Regions from separate parts of the Homo sapiens genome. Here all the other regions are linked to region 1. Evidence: promoter capture Hi-C in 16 types of primary human blood cells and fetal thymus (Javierre and others, 2016). All regions are on one chromosome and are shown on one strand. The core of a region is centred on a gene start or on the middle of the fragment in contact, and the rest is flanking DNA. Distances in the headings are between cores, read along the strand shown. Region 1 holds the start of PVALB (parvalbumin). Region 2 has its middle 19 kb from the start of CIMIP4. Region 3 overlaps MPST (mercaptopyruvate sulfurtransferase). Region 4 overlaps KCTD17 (potassium channel tetramerization domain containing 17). Region 5 overlaps LL22NC01-81G9.3 (a long non-coding RNA gene). Region 6 holds the start of CIMIP4 (ciliary microtubule inner protein 4).

Region 1 (3,558 bases), core at 871-3,370:
ACATCTGTGGACTCTGGTGATGCCATCAGAGAGGACCCAGAGGGCAGAGGAGGACTACCCAGGGCTGATGGGCTGACCTAATGACATTGATGCTCTGGCTGGGAGGGCTCAGTCCCGGAGGGGGTGTCAAGTTGATAGGAGAACTCAGCAGCAGGGAGAGATGGAGGAAGGAGATGGAAGAAGAGTGGGCCCCTGTTGAGGCTGCAGCCTTTGCCACAGGGTAGCTGCTTAGGGGCTCACCAGGAGCCAGTGTGTGGCTGAGATGTATGGGACCTGATAGAGCTGGGTCCCAGGCACCAGGGAGGATCACCCAGAGAGTCACTGAACTCCACACGAGTGAGTCCAGGGGTGTACCCTGCTCTGCTATTGCTTTACCATGTGTCCTTAGACCATTCACGGACTCTGTGCCTCCGTTTCTCCACTGGTATAGCTGAAGCGTCCTTCAGCTGGGGAAATCCATTCTCCAACTAGGCTCCTGGAGTGAGCTGAGCCTGGGAGTTGAAATGATAGCATAGGAGCCTGGCATATCTGAGTCAGCAGCCCAGCTGGGGACAAGGTGCAGAGGTGACGGCAGTAGCAGCAGGGTCCAGGGCAGCTGAGGGGTCCTGGGAAGTCCTGGAGCTGAGAGGCATCAGGTCAGGAGCTGCATCCTTGGTGCCTTGGAAGCCATCTGGCGGGCTGTGGCTTGAAGGAGCTGACTCACAGGGAGGGGGCAGCTGGAGCCAGCAGAGGTATCCTAAGGTTTCCAGGAAGGGCAGCCATCCAGGGCTGAGCTGCAGGAGACAATGTTGACAGCGATGTCAGGGAACTTGAGTTACTGGGCAGCTGGACAGCTGCTCTCCCTGGTCCCCACCACCCAGGGCCACCACAGCCCAAGGCCCTGCCTACCTGCCAATACCTTAAGTTGCAGTCCCCAGGTCCCACTACATGGGACCACTGACGTCATCAACACATCAGAAGGAGACAGAAGCCCAGAGAAGGTCACAACCCAAGGTCACACTGGGACTTAGTGCAGCCCAGGATCTAGAACCCAGGCCTCCTGACTCCCTGTCCAGCGCTCACACACTCTAGAAGCAGCTGGTTGCAGCTTGAAACCTTGGGAACCATGGGGAAGAACACAACGGGTCTCTGGCTGCATACAGATAGGCACCGTGACATTTTTCCAGAGGTGAAGTTCAGACCCCTACACCTGCTTAGGTTGTCTAGAAAGTGTGGTCTGAAGGTGCTACCCTTCTTCCAAACACATATGGGGCTTTCTGGGAGGGAGCATAGCAATTCCAAGCGGACTCTCCCACCCTACTCTGCCCAAAAAAGGTTTATAGGAGTAGGGGGAGTCTGGACCCATGATGCCAGGACCCAGGAGACCAGGAAAGCAAGTAGTTAGTAGAGATCTGAGAAGTGTTCTTCGAAAAATCAAGCCAGCAAAAAAATAAAAAATAAAAGTAAAACATCAAATCAGGTTTTAGAATATGCATCCCTGGCCAGATGTGGGATGGGGCACCCGAAGTGGGCCCCAGCAGCTCCTGCCTGTCCCTGTCCCTGTCCCTGCCACCTCCTCCCTGCGTCGGGTGGGTCAGGTTTCAGGACCTCAGCGCTCAGATTTTGCAGCATAAATTTGCATCCAGGACAGACCAGAGCAGAGGCTGAGGTAGGAGTGGAGAGAGAAAGGGAGCAGGGCCTAGGAGGTCCTGAGGTGCAGGCTGGCCGCTGAAGGTTCAGGATCTTCCCCCACGCGGCAGGACATCCGCCAAGGTTCCCAGATCTGAGACGGCGCACCTCCTGCGTGTCCTTGACGGCAGGTGGACTTTCCAGACCCAGCTGGTGACGCCAGTGCCCCCTAAATCCCAGAGGTGGCCCCTTCCCTCGTGCCCTGGCCGCAGCCCCTGGGATCCCGCGGACCCCTGGCCTGGCGGTGCAGGAGTGGTAGCAGGTCCGCGCGCCTTCTTGCCGGCGGCCGGCGCTGCTCAGCGGCGCGGCTGGACTGAGCCGCTCCCGCTGCGCTCAGAGTCCGGGCCCCTGGCGCCATGCCAGGCCCGGCGGGCGTGCGCCCGGCGCGCAGCACTGCAGCGCTGGTCATATGAGCAGAAATGATGAGAAAAGCACTTTTTAATCTTTTCGCACTTGCTCTGCCCGCTCAAACAGTTGCAGGATGTCGATGACAGACTTGCTGAACGCTGAGGACATCAAGAAGGCGGTGGGAGCCTTTAGCGGTGAGCAAGCGCGCTCCCCTCCCCATCCCTCTCCCCTCGTCCACCGCCCGCGCCCCTGCACTCCGCCGGCCCCGCAGCCGGCGGATCCTCCCCAGCGCGCTTCTGCCCACACTTCCCGCTGGGCGCCGGCGAGGTCGGGGCGGGGGCGTCCTTGGCAGTTCCCAAACTCTGTCCGGGCGAGGCTTGGCGCGGGGAGCGGGCGGGGAAGAGGGCGCCCCGCCTAAGTTACAGAAACTTGAGGGTGCTGAAGGCCCGGTGGCTGGGAGGACTCAGGGTCCGGGACCAAGGGCGAAGACCAGGGTCGGAGGAGAGACCTCCAGGGTCCTTGTACGAGCTCTCTGGACGTCCTCTTTAAGGCACTTAGAGGGGACTGCAGGGGGCATCCTCCTCTCCAAGAGACCCCTTTCCTGGACCCTCATTCTGGACAGGACTTTTCCCGCCAGGCGGTAGCCTTTGTTGGCCCCCTGACTGTCCTAGTTCCTTTACTGAGATTCAGCAACGGACCTGCGGGCGAGGTGACCTTCTGGAGCCGGCGCACAGCTCTGCCTAAGCCCGCACGGGGCATCCTCAGTGCCTCAAACCTCCAGCCTCCTTAGGCGGGCAGGGGAGGGGAACTGGCAGTCTCACCTCTCCCAGCTGCCCGGGACTTCAGCGCTAAGCTGCCCGCCTTCCTCCTCCCCTGTCCTCCAGATGGGGAAATCAGGGAACTGTCTTGGAGAGGACAAGACATTTGCCCAAGGTCACCTAGCTGGGCAGAAGGGGTATTAGAACTGGGTTGCCCAGCCTAGTGTCGGAGGTGGACAGGGCAACTTTCCTTGTCTCTAGCCCTGTGCTGAGGGGAAGAGAACATGACTTCAACAGCCATTCCCTACACACACACACACACACACACACACACAAAATACATGATCTAACATTGTACCCTTCCCCAGGTGTTCTAAAACAGGACCCCAAGATACAGAAAATTGCAGGTAGAAAAGGACCCCCATTTCCTTTCTGCTTTGCACCCCCTCCCCTGGGCACAAGAACCTCTCTGGGAAGCCACCCTCCCAGGGTCCTGGGATAACCCTCTCCCTTCACCTCAAGCCCATGTGGGAAGAAACTTAACTGGGTGTTTCTCGGGAGCCTCCTAACACCCCCTTCCCACTGCCTCCGAAGTGGATTTCTGCGCAGAGCCAGGACTTCCGGGTTTGCCCCTCCTCCTCCCACTGTATGACCTTGAGGGAAACCTGTCCTTTCTATGTCAATTTTCTGGCAACAAAGTCTGTGGCCAAGAAAGAAGGTCAACCCTCCTCCCCCTAACCCCAGGACCATGTTCATGCCCCCTTCAATTCCCCAGCCCACTCCC
Region 2 (3,421 bases), core at 616-3,115, 170 kb before region 1:
AGAGACCAACTGGGGGAAGATAGAAGCCCTGGGGTCCCAAACTATTCCCTAGTCCTCCCTCCTGCACACACATGCACACACACGTACCTTCATCCATTATCCCAGGAAAGGACATGAGAGCTGGGCATGACTCTGTCTCAAGCCCAGGGTGCCTGGCTTCTCCCACATGCCCTATGTGAGGGGGTCCTATAGTGGACACTGCTGGATCTTACCCTACATGCTCTTCCTAGAAGATGCCAATTATTCCCAGACATCCATTCCTCCCCCACGAGACACGGACTTCAGAGGAGTTGGCCACACACATTTCCTCCAATCTAGTGGCGGGTTTGATTGGTCTCATGGTGATTCTTTACCCCTACCCCAACCCCACCTCTTGCACGTGATTGGTTCAGTCATGCACATATGACTCAATTTGGGCCAATAAGATGCAAGGAAACGTGTGGATGCGTGCAGCCTTCTGGGAAATTCTTTTCTCAGCTGGGAATGCTGAGAGAGCATCCATCTTTCCTGATGTAATGAATGAGGAACCATGCAGCCCAGACCACTCCTGCCAGACACCTATGACCAGAGGAATTGCAGACCATGCAGCACATTCTGGGTCCTCCATGGCCTCGCAGAGCTGCTCCATCAACTTGGCCAGAAGCTGCCGGCCTCTGGACTTCCTGTAATGTGAGCCTGAGGTCTCCTCATTGTTTAAGGAGCCAAAAGCATCCTCAGACCATAGGGGCTTGGAGCCCCAGGGAAGAGTCCCCAGATAATGGGTTCTAGGTCAGACGGTTCTGTTTTCCAGTTGATCCTGAAGCTTTTCACCTGATGAGTCTCTAAGCCCGCAGCACACTCCACCCCGAGATCACTGACTTGCACCCTCAGACCGTGCTCTACCCATGGGTTATTTATTATTTGCTGTGTTCCAAAACACCACCAAAACTTGTGGGCTTAAAATGACATGATCCTTAATTTGCTCATGATTGAGCAATTTAGGCAGGGCTCAGGAGGTACGGCTCATTTCTGTTCTGTATAGCATCTGCTGTGAAGACGCCTGCTCCTCTCCCATGCCTAGTGCCTCAGCTGGGATGAGAACCACAGTGGGGGGCTGGCTGATCATCACTCTCTCTCATGGGACCTCTCTTCGTGGCTCACTTGAGCTTCTTTTGGAATGGGGACTAGGTTTCAAGAAGGAGCCGTCTCAGGGGACAAGATTCAATGTGCAATGGTTTATCAAGCCTTGCACTGGCTTGTCAATGTCCCTGTGGCCAAAGAGACATATGGCCAAGCCCAGACTTTGTGAGAGGGGACTACATAAGAGTATTACTGTATGCAGGAATGGTTCATTGGCGACCTCAAAATAATAGTTTGTCCTGGTGGTCATCTTGCTTTTGAAAGATCAAAAGCGAGAGGAAGAATCAAAATCACTACTGGGAGAAGAGGAGACATGTTCCTACTTCTCCCTCAACTGCCCCTCCTCCCACAAAAGGGAATGACTTACTTACTTTTTTTTCTTTGTCTTTTCTTTTTTTTTTTTTTTTGAGATGGAATCTGGCTCTGTTGTCCAGGCTGGAGTGCAGTGGTGTGATCTTGGCTCACTGTAACCTCCGCCTTCTGGGTTCAAGCTATTCTCCTGCCTCAGCCTCCCGAGTAGCTGGGATTACAGGAGTGCACCACCATGACCAGCTAATTTTTGTATTTTTAGTAGAGATGAGGTTTCACCATGTTGGCCAGGCTGGTCTTGAACTCCTGAGCTCAAGTGATCCACCCGCCTCAGCCTCCCAAAGTGCTGGGATTATAGGCGTGAGCCACCACGCCCGTCCAGGAATGACTTAAAGGTAGGGTTGGATCAGAATGCAATACAGGGAAGTGAATCTGACTTGATTTAATATTCATCAAATATCTAATTATGTGCAAAGTGCAGAGTTCAGTTCAACTTCTTTACTGGGTACCTAGTTTCTGCAAGACACTGTTCTGGGCACTGGAAACACTAGACTTTGTCTTCATCAACTACTATGTGCCCATCACATGTGACACCTGAAAAAATGAGCCACCCAAAGTCTTGTGGCTAAAGCAGACTCTGTGCTGTTCTGACATAGAAATGATAACGTGGCAAATGATTATGTGCCACATGGTTTATATACGGAACTGTATTTCATCCTTACACCAGTCCTCAGAGCTGTTATCACTCCCTTTATGAAGATGAGGAAACTGAGGCTTGGAGAGGCCAAGGAAATTGTACAAGATTATATGCATAGGAAGCTGGGGGTGCAAACCCAGGAATTTCTATCCAAAGTCACTTCTACTCTACCAGGCAATCGTACTGCAGTGTACGTAGTATGACAGTGCAGTGCCTAACAGGGCTGAGTGTTTGTGGTGCCTGTTGACGGAGCACCACAAACACTCAGCCCTATTAGGCACGGTGAAAACAGCAATATGAATGCAATACAATATGCAATATGCATATGCAATATGCAATACAGTCCAGACCTCAGAGCTTTGCAGTCTGCAGGAGATTGATGTGGAAGAAGCTGCCTTAGAGACTTATCTACCCATGATATGCCCCTGCCCAGCCCTGACCAATGAGCTGGACGTGCAAAAATAAATAAGACATGGCGCCTGTCCTCAAAGAGTTCAGAGTCTGGCGAGAAGACAAATACATCAGTACATAGATGCTCAGAAGTCTTACACATGCGGTGAGACGTTCACGTGGGGCCAGCAAAAGCACAAAGGAGAACGTGGTTAGCTCTGCCTGGGATGGGGTAGGGTGCCGGTCATATGGTAGGCTTCATAGAGGAGGTGGCTCTTGAGATGAATCATGGAACATGAATAAGGATGTTCAGGTGGACTGGAAGAGGCACAGCATTCCAGACAGAGGGCATGGTATGCATGAAACTGCAGCATGATGTATTTGGCAAGCTGCAGGTAGCTTGTTAAGCTTGGAAGGTAGGGCTCCAAGGAGGAACACAGAGGTGAGGTAGGAAACAGAGAGTCTATGCCTGGACCGGGCTGTCCTCTGTGAGGGCCTTACATTTGAGACTCAGACCTTCCTTCTAGGAATTTACAGTCTGGCTGGAACATAAAGAGTTAATGACTAAAGAAGCCACACGGAAGAGTTGAAAAGATGCTCATTATCCCCAATAATCAGAGATGCAAATGAAAACAATCCATCAGGTTGGCAAGAATTAAAACGCAAGTGTAGATGAGAATGAGGGAAATGGAAACTTTCGTACCCTTGATGAATTATGAGCCAAGAGCCGTGGGTGAGTATTTAGCAAAATTGAAATTATATCATACAACCTACAATTTCCATTTCTACACAGCCTAGACAAACCCTTGAACATGTATATAGGGAGTGCGTGCAAAGATCTCCATTGCAGCATAGTTTACAATAGGAAAACAACCTGGCAAGTATTAAAAGTTCTTGTTCTCAGCT
Region 3 (3,291 bases), core at 303-2,802, 210 kb before region 1:
ACAGGATCTCCAAGACCCTCAGGCTCCCCAGAGTGACCTTTGCTGGGCATGACAGAACCCCTGGCTCCTTAGGAAAACCGAGGCAGCCCCAGAGCTACAAGATTTAGCACTTGGTTATTTTATTTCCTCAAAAATAAAACAGAAAGGAGGCGGGGCCCCAGCTCAGCACCAGGTGGGCAGCTCGGAGTTGTGGCCTCCCTCCTCCAGGGCTCGCCTCCGCCTTTCCTCCCGCCCCTACTGGCAGCCAACAAGTCAACGGAATTCCTGGCCTTTGAGATGTCACCCCAAATGCCACCTGAGTTGAGTGAAGAAACACTCTCTTGGTGAAAGCAGAAGCGGAGCTACCAGGCCAGGCATTGCTGGTGGCCGGCATCACCTGAGCTCGCCTGTGTCCTGCCCAGCTTCAGTGGGTCTTCCCCCGGCCCTCTGAGATGACATCCTCGGGCCGGGCGCGCATGTACCACTCCACCCAGGAGCCATCGTAGATGGGCACGTCTGGCTTGCCGCAGAGGTAGGCCCCTAGTGCCACGTGGCAGGCTGTGACGCCAGAGCCACACGTGGCCACCAGTGGCTTAGACAGGTCCACTTTCTTCTCCTGGAACAGATGGCGGATCTCCTCAGGGCTCTTCTCCAGCCCCTCCTGGCTCAGGAAGTCTGTGAAGGGGATGTTCACGGTACCTGGGATGTGGCCAGGTTCAATGCCTACAGCAGGGGAGCAGGGAGGAGGGGACAAATAGAAGGATGCTATGAATGGTACCTCGTATTTGTGGTGCTCGAGATATTGAGAGCATCCCATGCAAGCATGGTGCTAAATCCTTTATATCCACCATCTCATTTAATTCTCACAACCATAAAACCTGAGCACTGTTTAGAGGAGCCCCCATTTTATACACGGTGATGCTGAGGTTAAGTACCACCTGAGGCTAACACATCTAGCAAATTGCTGACTGAACTTTGAACCTAAGAACTGGGCCCCAAGGTTTCCTGACTATGCACCCTAGGGACAGCAAAGCAATAAACAAGACCCCTGCCTAGCTAGAACGTGCAGTACCTGCAGGCAAGGAGCTTTAATCTGGCAGGGCAGACAGGCAACTGAATAATTACAAGCATAATGGGTGTTCCAAAAGTGCCCTACTGGGTGGCCTGGGGCATGTAAAAAAAAAATAACGCCAGTAACAGCAATAGCTGATATTATTATTACTGAGACAGGGTCTCATTCTGTTGCCCAGGCTGAAGTGCAGTGGCATGATCAAGGCTCACTGCAGCCTCAACCTCCTGGGCTCAAGCAATCCTCCTGCCTCAGCTTCCCCCCGAGGGGCTGGGACTACTACAGGCACATGCCACCATGCTCAGCTAATTTCCTTTTTTTGTTCTTTTTTTTTTTTTTGAGATGGAGTTTTGCTCTTGTTGCCCAGGCTGGAGTGCAGTGGCATGATCTTGGCTTACTGCAACCTCCACCTCCTGGGTTCAAGTGATTCTCCTGCCTCAGCCTCCTGAGTAGCTGGGATTACAGGCACCCATCACACCTGGCTAATTTTTGTATTTTTAGTAGAGACGGGGTTTCACCATATTGGCCAGGGTGGTCTCGAACTCCTGACCTCAGATGATCCACCTGCCTTGGCCTCCCAAAGTGCTGGGATTACAGGTGTGAACCACCACGCCTGGCCTAATTTGGTTTTTATAGACATGGGGTCTCAGTATGTGGCTCAGGATGGTCTTGAATTCCTGGCCTCAAGTAATCCTTCTGCCTCAGCTTCCCAAAGTGCTGGGAATATAGGAGTAAGCCACCTTGCCTGGCCAATAGCTGATGTTATTGAATGCTTACTTTCTGCCAGGCACTGTTTGGAGACGGTCAGCTATACTTTCTCCTTGAATCCACCCCAAAATTCTCTGGGAAAGAAATTATTATCCTCTCTTTTGTAAAGATGAAGAGAATGAAGTACAAAGACTAGCTTGTGCAAGCTAGCAGAGGGCAGGGAGGAGTAAACCCAGGCAAGTCTATGCTTCCCACCTTCACGCCACACTGGCTGGGGGCTCAGTGGGTGGAGGAAGTTTCTCTGAGAATGCCCCGAAGGATGAGTAGGATTCAGTCACATAAAGGGGTCTGGGTGGATGGAGGCCTAGAGCATCCCAGGCAGAGGGAATCTGAAAGGCGAGGGAACCACCTGTTGCCCGGAGGGGTTAAAGGTCATTGTCACGAAAGCCCAGACAGTGAGAAGCCAGAGGCCCAAAGGGGAAGCTGAAGGGGATGGGAACGCCTTAGCAGGCCTGGAGTAAGACTTGGGGGCTTTGACCTGACTGCAGGGGGAACTCAGGCTTCTGCGTTTACTTTTTTACTGTTACTTTTAATTTTTTTTATTGAGAAGGGGCTTGCCATCATGTCCAGGATGGTCTTGAACTCCTGGGCTCAAGGGATCCTCCCACCTCAGCCTTCCAAAGTGTGAGGATTATAGGTAGGAGTTACCTTGCCCAACCTAGATTTCCATTTTTAAACGATCATTTTGATTGTAGCAGAAAGAATGGGATGGGAAAGGCCCACACCTCTGCAGACTCCCAGGGTGTTTTTTGTTTTCACTGCCCCACCTTGAGGCAGGGGTTACTAACATTCCCATTTTCATGCAGGACTGGGATTTGCAACAAAATAAACCTTCACAACTAACGCTTGGGCTGGGCACGGTGGCTCACGCCTGTAATCCCAGCACTTTGGGAGGCCGAGGGGGGCAGATTACCTGAGGTTGGGAGTTCGAGACCAGCCTGACCAACATGGAGAAACCCCGTCTCTACTAATAATACAAACATTAGCCGGGCGTGGTGGCACATGCCTGTAATCCCAGCTACTCGGGAGGCTAAGGCAGGAGAATCACTTGAACCCGGGAGGCGGAGGTTGTGGTGAGCCGAGATTGCGCCACTGTACTCCAGCTGGGAAACAAGAGCAAAACTCCGTCTCAAAACAATAACAACAACAACAACAGAAACAAACACAAACAAAAAACCCCCCAAAAACGAATGATTCAAATCTGAGCCATTCAGACTCTTGTCCAGCTTCTGCCTTGGTTTCCCTCCGCAGTGGAGTGACACCCCCACAGGAGCTGCTGACCCATGTATCGGTATCTATTCTCAGACCCTGGCATAGAGACAGCACTCCCGAGTCTGTGGAGAGGCTGGAATGGGTCATGCATCCCACCTAACAGACACAGTTACCGGGCTTGGTCAGATATCACATAGAGACCAGCCCAGAGCAAGGAGGAGGAACAAACTCTCAACCCAGGGTGGTGACTGTAAAGGGAGGGC
Region 4 (3,746 bases), core at 1,020-3,519, 240 kb before region 1:
TGGAGAAAGGCTAGCCAACCCCCTCTCCTTCTCTAAAGGCACTTTTGACCCTGGGCTCACTTTCTGGCTCTGCTCCTCTGGAAACCTGAAAGGTGGGAGGTCAGCTGCATGACTAGGGATAAAGTCCCTCGGGATAAGGATCTCCCGATGGGTAAACTGCATCTGGACTGGGAGGAACCACCGTTCACCATAAAGACCTCATGGGAAGGCACTGCTTTGGGCTCCCCTGCATGTTGCAATGCTGGCCACTGGGCATGTCCCCTGCGGAGACCCTGAAAACTGTGTCAGGAACTGCTATGATCGCATGATGCTGACTCTGAGTTCTAAGAGGTACTGACTCAATGTGGACTCCACTCACCTATGTGGATCTGGTCTCCTTGCACCTGAGCTGTCCTTCGGGGGCCACAGACTCACTCATGCCACCAGATAGATCACCACCCAGTTGCTGTGAGGACTCCCACCAACAAGGACACCCCGTGCTGTCCTATGGCCACTGGGGCTCCTATCCTCTCTCTCGGTCAACCTGCCACCAAGTGTGGTCTCTCCTAACCTTGTTTAATTTGATTTCAGAAGAACCCTGGGGTTGGGGGAGACTGTGGTGGGGAACCCAAGGCTGGGGCTGCAGGAAGGGAGGGGCCTGCTTGGTCAGAGGCTAGGAGGTCCCAGGGTTGTCCTGGTGGCACGCCCCTGTCCCCAGCGCACCTGCTCGAAGCGCCAGCCATCAGACATGGTGGAGACCATTTGCGTGAGCTCCTCCTCCTGGCACTGCAGCACGCGGTACACGTGCTTGGGTGGGACCTGTGGGCAGAAGGGTCACATAGAGGGCACCTGTGGGAGCACCAGGCACCCCAGGAGGGGCATGAGCACCTGCTGCCACCACCCCCGCAACATACCCAAAGAAGAAGAGAGGGAGAGAAAGAAGAGGTGGTTGGGGGGAGGCAGCCATGCTCTGAGCACCTGCTCCTCACCAGGCATTTACCAGGCACCATCTCACTTAATCCTTCCAAGAATCCTAGGCATTACGGGACTTTCCATTGAGGCTCAGAGAGGTCCAGTTACTTGCCCAAGGTCACCCAGCTCAAGGGTGAAGGAGACAGAACCGGAACACGGGTAATTCAAGAAAGAACATGGGTGGGGCTTAGGGAACATTCTGGGTCACCCTCAAGGAGTCAGGCCCTCAAGGAGACACGGAGCCTCCCCTCTTTAATCCCCTGGGCCTGAGAAATGGTTCCTCACTACCTGTCCCCCAACCCTCACACATCCCCCAGAGTAGGCGGAAAATCTCTTTCCCTCCTCCTGCAGACTGGCCAGGGAGGCCCAGGCTCCAAGGTCACAAACGCCAGCCCCAACAGCCTGTGCCGAGCCCACCAGGCGACCATCTGATGCCACAAAAGGCACAATTTGCTAATCCTGCATTTTCCTCTGCAGGGCACCCTGTACCTCCACACTGACCCCCTTCTGCCTATGAGGAAGGGATGGGTGTGCCATTCCCACCCCTCTCTATCCCATAAGAGAAAATCAAGGTCCGGAGAGGGCGAGCCTGGCCCAACACACAGCAAATGGGGCTGAGACAGGGACTGAACCCCAGTGTCCGTCTCCGAGTCTGGGGCTGTGCTGGGCAGCCTGTCAGCCCAACCATGCCTCTCCTTACAGGCCAGCTCGGCCTCCCCATGACAAACACTGGTCCTGTCTCTCCCAACCTCCTCTGCTTCCCGCCCCGTCTCTCAGCCTCTCTCTCCCCACTGGCCCCTGCCCTGGCCGTGTGTGCTGCCCCTGCTCCCGACCTGGGTGACCGTGTAGTCCTTCTCTTCCATCCGGTCTTTGATGATGCGGATCAGCGGGCCGATGTTGTAGAACTCGGCTTCCTCCAGGACCCCTGGCACAGACAGAACAGATCCCAGGTCACTCCTTCTGCCTCCATGCCCCATTCTCCTCTTGTTCCCTCCACCCCGAAACCCACCTCTCGCTCTGATCACCCGCCCTGAGGGTGAGCTGAGTGTCTGTGAGTTCAGGGGTCAAGTAAGAGGGAGCATTTCTTTCCTTGGATCCCACACTTCCTGTGGAAGGGGCTGAGGGGCTGCCACACAGCTCTGCTGTGCTGAGTGCGGTGACCCAGGGGTACCTGCCAGGCCACCGTCTGGGGCAGCTTTAGGGCTATCAAGAGACAGCAGGGTCATTGGGACTGATCCCCAGAATGTCACCATGAGCAGGGCCTTGCCTGACCCCTGATTATGTGCTCCTATTTATTAAGCACATTCTAAGTGCCAGGTGCATTACATTTTTGAATTCTCAGAACTAGAAGGAGGTACTTTCATCATCTGCATTGAACAACTGGGAAAACTGAGGCTCCCAAAGAGAAGCAGCTTGTCCAAGGTCACACAGCTGGTAAGTGCCAGAGGGAACTCAAGCGCTGCAGACTCCAGAGCCCATGTCTCCCCACTGTAAGCACATACCCTTGTGTCCATGCATTCCCCCAACTGCCTCACCTTACAGTTTGCAACACCCTGCACGAGCTCATCACAAGTCCAGGGATATGAGGAGAGCAGGCATTACTGTCCCCATCTTACAGTTAAGTTAATCTGGGAGATGAAGAAGTCAGCCCACCAGTGAAGCGATGAGCTTGCAGCTGTTTCGACTCCCCTAGGCTCCCAGAAGGCAGGGGACCTTTGGGCCCTTTCCTTGACTGGCCTCTGGGCTCCCTGGGGACAGAGCTCATTATGAGCAGAATGTGTGTGTTCCCCAAAAATCCACCTGCTGAAAACTGTGATGGGATTAGGAGGGGAGGTAATGAGATCATGGGGGTAGAGTCCCCAGGGTAGGATCAGTCTTCTTATAAGAAAGGCTAATTGGATGTGAGGGCGATCTGGCGGGGACATCTGTCACTCCACTGATCACCAGGGTTGATTTAGCTGATCTGGCTGGCTAGATGTGTGTCCCCTTCCTCCCTCACTGCTCCAGGTGTGTCCCTCCCGAAGCTGTGAGCTCCATCGAAGGGGGCGACCACCCCCGATAGAGGAGGACCGGACTTTGGTCAAGGGTATGTGAGTAGCTGCGCTCCCCTGCTAGAACCTCCAAACAAGCTCTCGAGAAGGGGCGGGCGAGGGCTAGCTCCCTCTCTTTCTGCCATGTGAGGACACAACGAGAAGTCAGCAGTCTGCAATCCGGAAGAAAGTCCTCACCAGAACCTGCCACAGTGCCCCGATCTCGGGTTTCTAGCCTCTAGGACCAAGAGAAATAAATTTCTGATTTTCATAAGCCACCCAATCTATGTTACTTCATGATTGCAGCCTGAAATGGCTAAGATGGGGCTCACATTTCTGATCTGCCCTCTGTCCCCGGTGCCCACACAGGACCAAACACAGAGCAGGAGGTCAGGGAGTGCAGCTGCCTGATTACGAGAATTATCCCCAGTGCCCTGGGCGGAGCCCTGCAGGTGACAGACAGCTAGCACTGCATCCCACATCCTCCGGCCAGGAACTGAGCTCCATGCTGCACTATTAACTCCTTTTATCCTCATGACAGCTCGGTGAGGTGGGTGCTATGGTCCCCCATTTCACAGATGGGGGCATGCAGACACAGAGGGGTTAGGTCACTTTCTCAGTGTCACACAGCTAGTAAGTCTCCTCTCAGATCCCCTATCCCCTGGATGAGCCCTAGCCCTGTGTATCCCCTAGCCCCCGGATAGCCCTGCGTGATCCCCTAGCCCCCGGATAGCCCTGTGTGATCCCCTAGCCTCCGGATAGCCC
Region 5 (3,405 bases), core at 181-2,680, 150 kb before region 1:
GAAGGAAAAGAAAAGAAAGAAAGAGAGAGAGGTGGGAGGAAGGTGGAAGAGAGAGAGAGAGAAGGTAGGCTGGCACTGAAATCTTAAAATCCTGGAGATGAATCTAATAAGAACCTAGGAAAAAGCTTTTAAAATTTGCTGAAGTAAAATTCCCAAAATAAGTGGAAATCCATAATTATTGGATCAAAAGAGCCAGTATTACAAAGTTGTCAAAACTGTCAGATCTTCCCAAATTAAGAATTAAATTTAGCGCAATTCCAATAAAAATTCTAAGAGGACATTTTTATGACTTGATAAATTGATTCTAACAATAATTTGGAGGAATAATAGCGTAATCGTGTCCAATAAAATGTTGAAAAGGAAGACTAATGAGTGAGGATGCCAAATATCAAAACACTCCATAAGTTATAGCAACTGGAAAAGCATGACGTAGTCATAGGAATACAGAAGTGTTCAGAGGAACAAATAAAAATTGTCTTAGTTAGCTCTCACTACACATTGAACCTAAGACCCCATGATACCAAAAGCATCAGAACTTTCTTCTTGTGCGAAGAGGGAATCATTCTTTCTTTCTTCTTCACTGTTGTCTTTTATTATTATTATTATTATTTTTAAAGCAGACTATGGCCTGTAATCCCAGCTACTCGGGAGGCTGAGGCTGGAGAATTCCTTGAACCTGGAACCGGGGAGGCGGAGGTTGCAGTGAGCTGAGATCGCGCTACTGCACTCCAGCCTGGGTGACAGAACGAGATTCCGTCTCTAAATAAATAAATAAATAAATAAATAAATAAAACTAAGCAGACTATGTCAAGGTCTTCATGCCCCTTCCCAGAAAAGCTTGCCTTGACTTTAACAAGAAAGAATTGTATAATGTCTGCAAGTTATTTGCTCAAAGTTGCCTTCTCAGAATTATGCTGAAAAGCCCTCTGTGCTTGGAATTCCACTTGCCTGCTGTGTATGTATGTATGTATATACTTCACTTAAAAATCAGAGGAAAGTGGCCGAGCACAGTGGCTCACGCCTGTAATCCAAGCACTTTGGGAGGCCAAGGCAGGCGGATCACTTGAGGCCAGGAGTTCAAGACCAGCCTGGCCAACTTGGTGAAACCCTGTCTCTACTGAAAATATAAAAATTAGCTGGGCGTGGTGGCGCACACCTGTAGGCTGGAGATATAGTAGGCATAATCCCAGCTACTCAGGAGGCTGAGGCAGGAGAATCACTTGAACCCGGGAGGTGGAGGTTTCAGTAAGCCAAGATCACGCCACTACACTCCAGCCTGGGTGACAGTGAGGCTGCCTCAAAAAAAAAAAAAAAAATTAGAGAAAAGTGATGGCATCATCATCCCAAGCGGTAAAAGACAATTGTGATTCAGTGTCACGTGGGCCTGGAAACTCCTCCATTTCTCCATTGGGCTGTTGCAGAGGCTCTCTTGCACATGGGCAGATACTGCTGGTGTTGCCATCGTGCAAAGGAGACGTGGTGTAAAGCCAGACTCTAAGAATGTCCAGGAGATTGAAGAATCCCACCTTCAAGCAGAGGTCTGGAAGCAGTGCTGGGATGTCTTGTCTGGATTGTGCCTGGCAATGTAATGAACAGGAAATAAAGAGACACGTTCTTTGATGAATCTCAGGCTCTTGGGGTTGCACAACCATTTCACGGGGATCAAGATGAATCACTTTGTCCTCTGTTCCAGCGAGGGGAGGCCTTCCCAACCTCAGCCAGCCCTAGGGGCACACCAGGAGCAGCAGAGAATGGCTTCCTAGAGCCCAGGCAGCCCCGGGATCCCAGAGAATGATGTTCTGGGCCTGGGAGGCAGATTTGGATCATGCCTGAGAATTCACCAAGCTGAGCCGCCCCCATGTAAGGCCACTGGGAATAATCCCAATAGTTTCCACTTGTCAGCCTCCAGTCAGAGGGAGTCTGCCTCTCATGGTCAAAGTTGCCAGGCCTGCAGACAAAACACTGGGGCAAGGCAGGTCCCCAAAGCCATCGTGGAGCAGGATTGGTCCAGGATGAAGCTTTCACTGCCCATTCATGGGAGGAGAAAACCCTGGAAAATGAAGGCAAGGAAAATGGCCAGCTGCCTCTGTTTGAAAAGGGCCATCCTGCGCGCTGAGATCAGAATTCTTTGATTACTTCGTTTGTATTAAAATGTCCCTTTTTACCAGCCTGGCCAACATGGTGAAACCCTATCTCTACTAAAAATACAAAAATTAGCTGCGCGTGGTGGCACACACCTGTAATCCCAGCTACTCGGGATGCTGAGGCACGAGAATTGCTTGAACCTGGGAGGGGGAGGTTGTGGTGAGCTGAGATCATGCCACTGCACTCCAGCCTGGGCAACAGAGTGAGACTCTGTCTCAAAAAACAAAAAATAAAATAAAGTAAAATAAAATAAAATAAAATAAAATAAAATGTCTTTTTTTTAAAGTAGAAAATGATGTTGATAGTAAATGATATTTTCTTTTTTATTTAAAAATAAAGTTGTATTTTTCTTTCTGTTTTTAAAAATTTTTTACTCATCAATATAATTGAAAACTGTCTAGAAACCACATCTGTAGAGGTAGGGAAACAGAGAAGTAAGTTGTAATCAAGAACAACAAGGTCTCCAATCTGAGCTTTGTAGAACAAACTCCAGCATGGGGAAGAAGGCAGGAACTCAGTTGTCAGAGGCCACACAGGGTGGCCCAGCTCTCAGAAGCAAGGGTGGGCCCAGGGATGAGGACAGAGGTTCAAGGAAGTATAGGCACAACTGTGACCCTGTGAACCCCTCCTTCCCCGGGTCAGGGCTGGTCCTGGAGCTGAGGATGGAGCTGAGCCTCCAGCCGGGCAGTGGGGGAGGGTGTCTCAGTCACAGAAAGAGGAAGACCCAGGAACAGGAGGCAGACAGGTCACCACTGAGAACAAGAGAGGCCTGGACAGGCAGATTCTGCAAGTGTGGCTCAAGGCATGCAGCTGCCTCTATTCCCCATTTTTGGCTCAGATGACCCCTTCCCATAAGCAACCATGTGTGTGGGCATTTCTCTGGCCTTAGCAGAACCAGTGGCCTAGGGCAAGGCCTCTTACAAGAGACAAAGTCACTGGGAGTAGGGGATAGGGGGCTGGGGGGTGGCCAAAGAGTCACATTCTGGCACGTGGAGCTTGAGGTATCTCGTCTCTGGAACATACAAGGAAAGAGGTTCTATAGGTCATTGAATTCATAGCTCTTAGGTTTGGGGGAAGAACACTTACTTAGGAAAACCTTTAGGTAAAACCTGAGAGAGCCTGCAAACTTGAAAGCAGAGCACGTAGACCGGGATGAGAAGAGGAGCCCTGGAGACCCCTGAGGACACTGGTGCCTAAGGGCCTGGCTGAGGTGCTCGGGAGGCCAGGAGGGGAACAGAGAAGGGAAAGTCAGAGCGGGAA
Region 6 (3,337 bases), core at 148-2,647, 190 kb before region 1:
ATGAAGTCAGTGTCATGTTGGTGTTGGGGGGCCCACATAGCAAGGAACTGAGGATGGCCTCTGGCTGACAGCCAGAGAGAGCCTGAGACCCTCAGTCTAACAGACTGCAAGGAACTGAATCCTCCCACAGCCACATGAGCTTGGAAGCATATTCTTCCCTAGTGGAACCTCAGATGAGACTGCAGCCCTGGCCAATACTTGGATTGTAGCCTGCTAAGACCCCAATGCAGAGAACTCAGCTAAGCCATGAGTAGACACCCGACCCAAAGAAACTGTGAGATAACAGTTGTATGTTAAGCTTCGAAGTTTATGGCAAGATTGTCGTGCAGCAATAGATAATACTTAGGCAAGAGATGAGGGTGGCTTGGACCAGGGAGTAGGGGGAGTTGTGGAGGTGGACGAAGGCATCCAAATCTAGTGTACTTCGAAGGACTTGCTGATGGGTTGCTTGCGGAAGTAGCTTAGAGTTTTGTGATGTCTCTCTCTGTGCAAGGCAATGTGCTACATTTTGCAAAAAATTGTTTTATTCGCCCATCACCCTTATCCTTAGTGTTGGGTGATATCTGTTTCACATGTGAAGGAAGTTCAGCTAAAGGACTTGGCCAGTCTCTTATCTAATAAGTGACAGGCCCAGATTCTGGGGACTCCAAGTTTAACCACAGCACTCTCTGTTTCCTGGGGAAATCCTGAAAGGCTGGGCTTGCAGGAGGCGTTCACTATACCCACTCTTTGTCCAGGCTGAGCAACAGCCAGACAGGAATGGGCCAGTGCTGGCACCAATGACTTCTGCCTCCTTCTTCTCTGCAGAAAAGAAGTCACTTAATTTTGTTGATCTCCTTCTGTAGCCCTTGTTGTTTAGGAATAGGAGAGAGGACCCTTCCTTTAGTTTTACTCCCAGGTCCCTGATCCCTGGGTGTCCAAATCAGACAGCTCCAGATGCATCTTTCTCCTTCCCCATTGACCTCGACCTACATTTATGCTGTTATACACATCCATGCCTTTAATATTCTCATCCCTTCAAAACTGTTAAGTTCCTAGGCATCCTTCAAGATCCAACTCAAATGGCTCTTTCATAAGTCCTTCCTCCTTTTTCCTACACAGAGCTAGTTCTTCTCCCTACTTAGTGCTTTGAGCTCCCAAGAACATCTTTTGCACTTGGTAGCATCTGAGCCCCCTGTGCCTGGCACACCTGGCATGTAGTGGGGGCTCAACTGACATTCTAGAGTGGATGAGAGAGTGAACAATAATTGAAGCCCCTCCTGCCTTTTCCTGGCCTCAATCCTGGCTTTCTCCTGGCCTCTTTTCCCTACGGGTGGGCCTATCAGCCCTCTGAGGTAACAGAGCCCTGTGTATAGTGATCACCATGGCAACTCCAATGAACATCTTGGGGAGGGCCACTTCCCAGCAACCATCCATTGGTCTTCACCAGTAGTTCTGCAGTGGGGATCTGCACTTCTGGGCTTCAGCACACATCAGTGTGGTTCACGTGTTTCCTGCTGTTATGAAAGAGATTGGAGAGGTGAGGCAGAGACTTATGAAGGGCCAGGGTTCTTCCAGGACATGGGGTTTCATCTTCCTTCTCCCCATTCAGAGTTGCTTGTGAGTGAAGACTGCCTAGACTGGACTTACCTTCCCGCCCTCTTTGACCAAAGTCTCTTGGGATCTCTCTCTCTGGGTCAGAAACTGGAAGTGAGTCCACACTTCCATTGTAGCCCGTCCAGACTGCTGTGGACTGGCAGTGCACTGGGACGTACAGAGCTGCCGTGGGCACGTCAGGTTGGTGGCTGGGGATAGGAGGAGAAAGAAAACTTGGAGCTAACTTGAACTTCACCTAGCTTGAAGATGTGCAATTTAATTTTAGCCCCACCTGGTGAAGTCCTGTGTCTTTTCGGAGCCTCATTTTCTCCATCTGTGAAAGAAGATAAATTAGTAGTGTCTCCGAACACCTTACTGGGTATTTGTGAAGACCAGACTAATTTACCAGATGTGAGAATGCTTGACATGGACTTGTGTTAGTTATCTCTTGCTGCACAACAAATCACCCCAAAACTTAGTGGGCTTAAGACAACATTTACTATCTCACAGTTTCTGTGAGTTGGGAATACCGGTGGAGTGTTGGTGATTTTTCTGTCCCAGGGTCTCTCACAGGCTGCAATCAAGGTGTTGCTTGGGTCTCTAGTCTCATCTCAAAGCTCGACCAGAGAAGGAACCCATTCACATGGCAGGATCCAGCTACTCTGGAGCTGTTGGCAAGAGGCCACTCTGAGTTCCTTGCCCTGTGGACCTCTCCATAGGGCATCTCACAACAGGGAAACTGGCTTCTGTCAGAGAAGATGAGCTGAGGAGAGCTGCAGAGAGTGTGTGAAAAAGACAGAAGTTGTAGTCTCTTATAAGTTCATCATGGATGCAACATCCCTCATTTTTGCCACATTCCATTCATCACTATGTCCAGTCCACACCAAAGGGGAGAGAATTATACCAAGAAACAGGGATCATTGGGAGCCATGTCAACTGCCTGCCACTCTCTGCCCTCTGGCCCCCAATAATGTACATCCCTTCCACATGCAAAATATAGTCATCCCCTCCTAAGATCTTTAAAATTCTCATCCTATTAAAGCATCAGTTTAAAAGCTAGAATCTGGTCATATAAATCAGCTCCAGGTGTGGCTGAGGCTCCTCCAGTGTCGTTCCTTAAGTACAGCTTCTCAGATTCAATTCTTCCCCATCATAGATCTGTGAAACTAAGTAATTTGCCCTGAACACACCTAACATACAGTGATGTGATAGGCATAGGATAAGAACTAGTGACATTCCTATTCAAAATTGAGGAAAATGGAGACATGGAGTCAATGTTCCATAGCGGTTTTGAAATCCAGCCACACAAATGTTGGACATTCCTTGATTAGGTTTCAAGGCCTGGGGATAATTCTCCATGGCTCTCAGCTCTGCCTTCTGGACTCTTGCATCCACTCTCTGACTTGTCTTTTTTATTTTTATTTTTTGTTCAATGGTATCTTTTCATTTTGTACTGTCTCTATCCCTTTTACCCGAAGTTGCCAACATTTTGCTGATGTTATTTTCTCAACAGTAAAACTTACAGGGGTTCACTCCATTGAACAAAAGTCACACCCCTTTTTAACTGAGGCTCCTGTTGAGGAGCCTTAAGCTTCCTAGAGGTCCTATGGTTCTGTTAAGAGGATATATCAGGCATCTCTTTAATCTCTTTAAAGCACCCTTTGTTTGACAGAGTAATACCCTCATCCTTTGATCTTTCTGAAGTTTTAACAACAGGTCGCACAGTCACACTCCTGGGCACACTTTCCAGACAGCCTTCTGA

The links. Contacts are between HindIII fragments. The CHiCAGO score rates a contact against its expected background, and 5 or more counts as called.
Region 2: a contact is called between a fragment that was not itself captured here and the fragment with the promoter of PVALB in region 1, in 6 of 17 cell types (neutrophils, monocytes, M0 macrophages and 3 more). The highest score is 9.3, in neutrophils.
Region 3: a contact is called between a fragment that was not itself captured here and the fragment with the promoter of PVALB in region 1, in 2 of 17 cell types (neutrophils and erythroblasts). The highest score is 9.2, in neutrophils.
Region 4: a fragment that was not itself captured here is called in contact with the fragment with the promoter of PVALB in region 1 in 3 of 17 cell types (neutrophils, erythroblasts and megakaryocytes); the score reaches 5.9 in neutrophils.
Region 5: a fragment that was not itself captured here is called in contact with the fragment with the promoter of PVALB in region 1 in 3 of 17 cell types (megakaryocytes, endothelial precursors and monocytes); the score reaches 6.1 in megakaryocytes.
Region 6: the fragment with the promoter of CIMIP4 here is called in contact with the fragment with the promoter of PVALB in region 1 in 2 of 17 cell types (M1 macrophages and neutrophils); the score reaches 5.1 in M1 macrophages.

The regions. Positions count from the first base shown.
Region 1 is chr22:36,815,597-36,819,154 of GRCh38, reverse strand. It overlaps PVALB (parvalbumin), which reads left to right and starts at 2,120. Exons shown (of 4, transcript NM_001315532.2): 1 at 2,120-2,210. The coding sequence starts at 2,150. The HindIII fragment of the contact is 33,107 bases long and covers 1-3,558 here.
Region 2 is chr22:36,987,632-36,991,052 of GRCh38, reverse strand. No RefSeq gene overlaps it. Among named protein-coding and RNA genes, the nearest start is that of CIMIP4, 19 kb to the left of the region's middle. The HindIII fragment of the contact is 2,121 bases long and covers 805-2,925 here.
Region 3 is chr22:37,026,627-37,029,917 of GRCh38, reverse strand. It overlaps MPST (mercaptopyruvate sulfurtransferase), which reads right to left. Exons shown (of 3, transcript NM_021126.8): 3 at 103-702. The coding sequence ends at 404. Among named protein-coding and RNA genes, the nearest start is that of MPST, 8.5 kb to the right of the region's middle. The HindIII fragment of the contact is 5,853 bases long and covers 1-3,291 here.
Region 4 is chr22:37,054,450-37,058,195 of GRCh38, reverse strand. KCTD17 (potassium channel tetramerization domain containing 17) reads right to left here. Exons shown (of 9, transcript NM_001282684.2): 3 at 1,785-1,876; 4 at 703-798. It also overlaps the pseudogene RN7SKP214. Among named protein-coding and RNA genes, the nearest start is that of KCTD17, 4.6 kb to the right of the region's middle. The HindIII fragment of the contact is 5,049 bases long and covers 1-3,746 here.
Region 5 is chr22:36,965,340-36,968,744 of GRCh38, reverse strand. It overlaps LL22NC01-81G9.3 (a long non-coding RNA gene), which reads right to left. Exons shown (of 4, transcript NR_038954.1): 1 at 3,232-3,405; 2 at 2,238-2,355; 3 at 1,157-1,577; 4 at 573-759. Among named protein-coding and RNA genes, the nearest start is that of LL22NC01-81G9.3, 1.8 kb to the right of the region's middle. The HindIII fragment of the contact is 1,181 bases long and covers 840-2,020 here.
Region 6 is chr22:37,005,911-37,009,247 of GRCh38, reverse strand. CIMIP4 (ciliary microtubule inner protein 4) reads left to right here and starts at 1,397. Exons shown (of 6, transcript NM_001163857.2): 1 at 1,397-1,519. The HindIII fragment of the contact is 2,868 bases long and covers 301-3,168 here.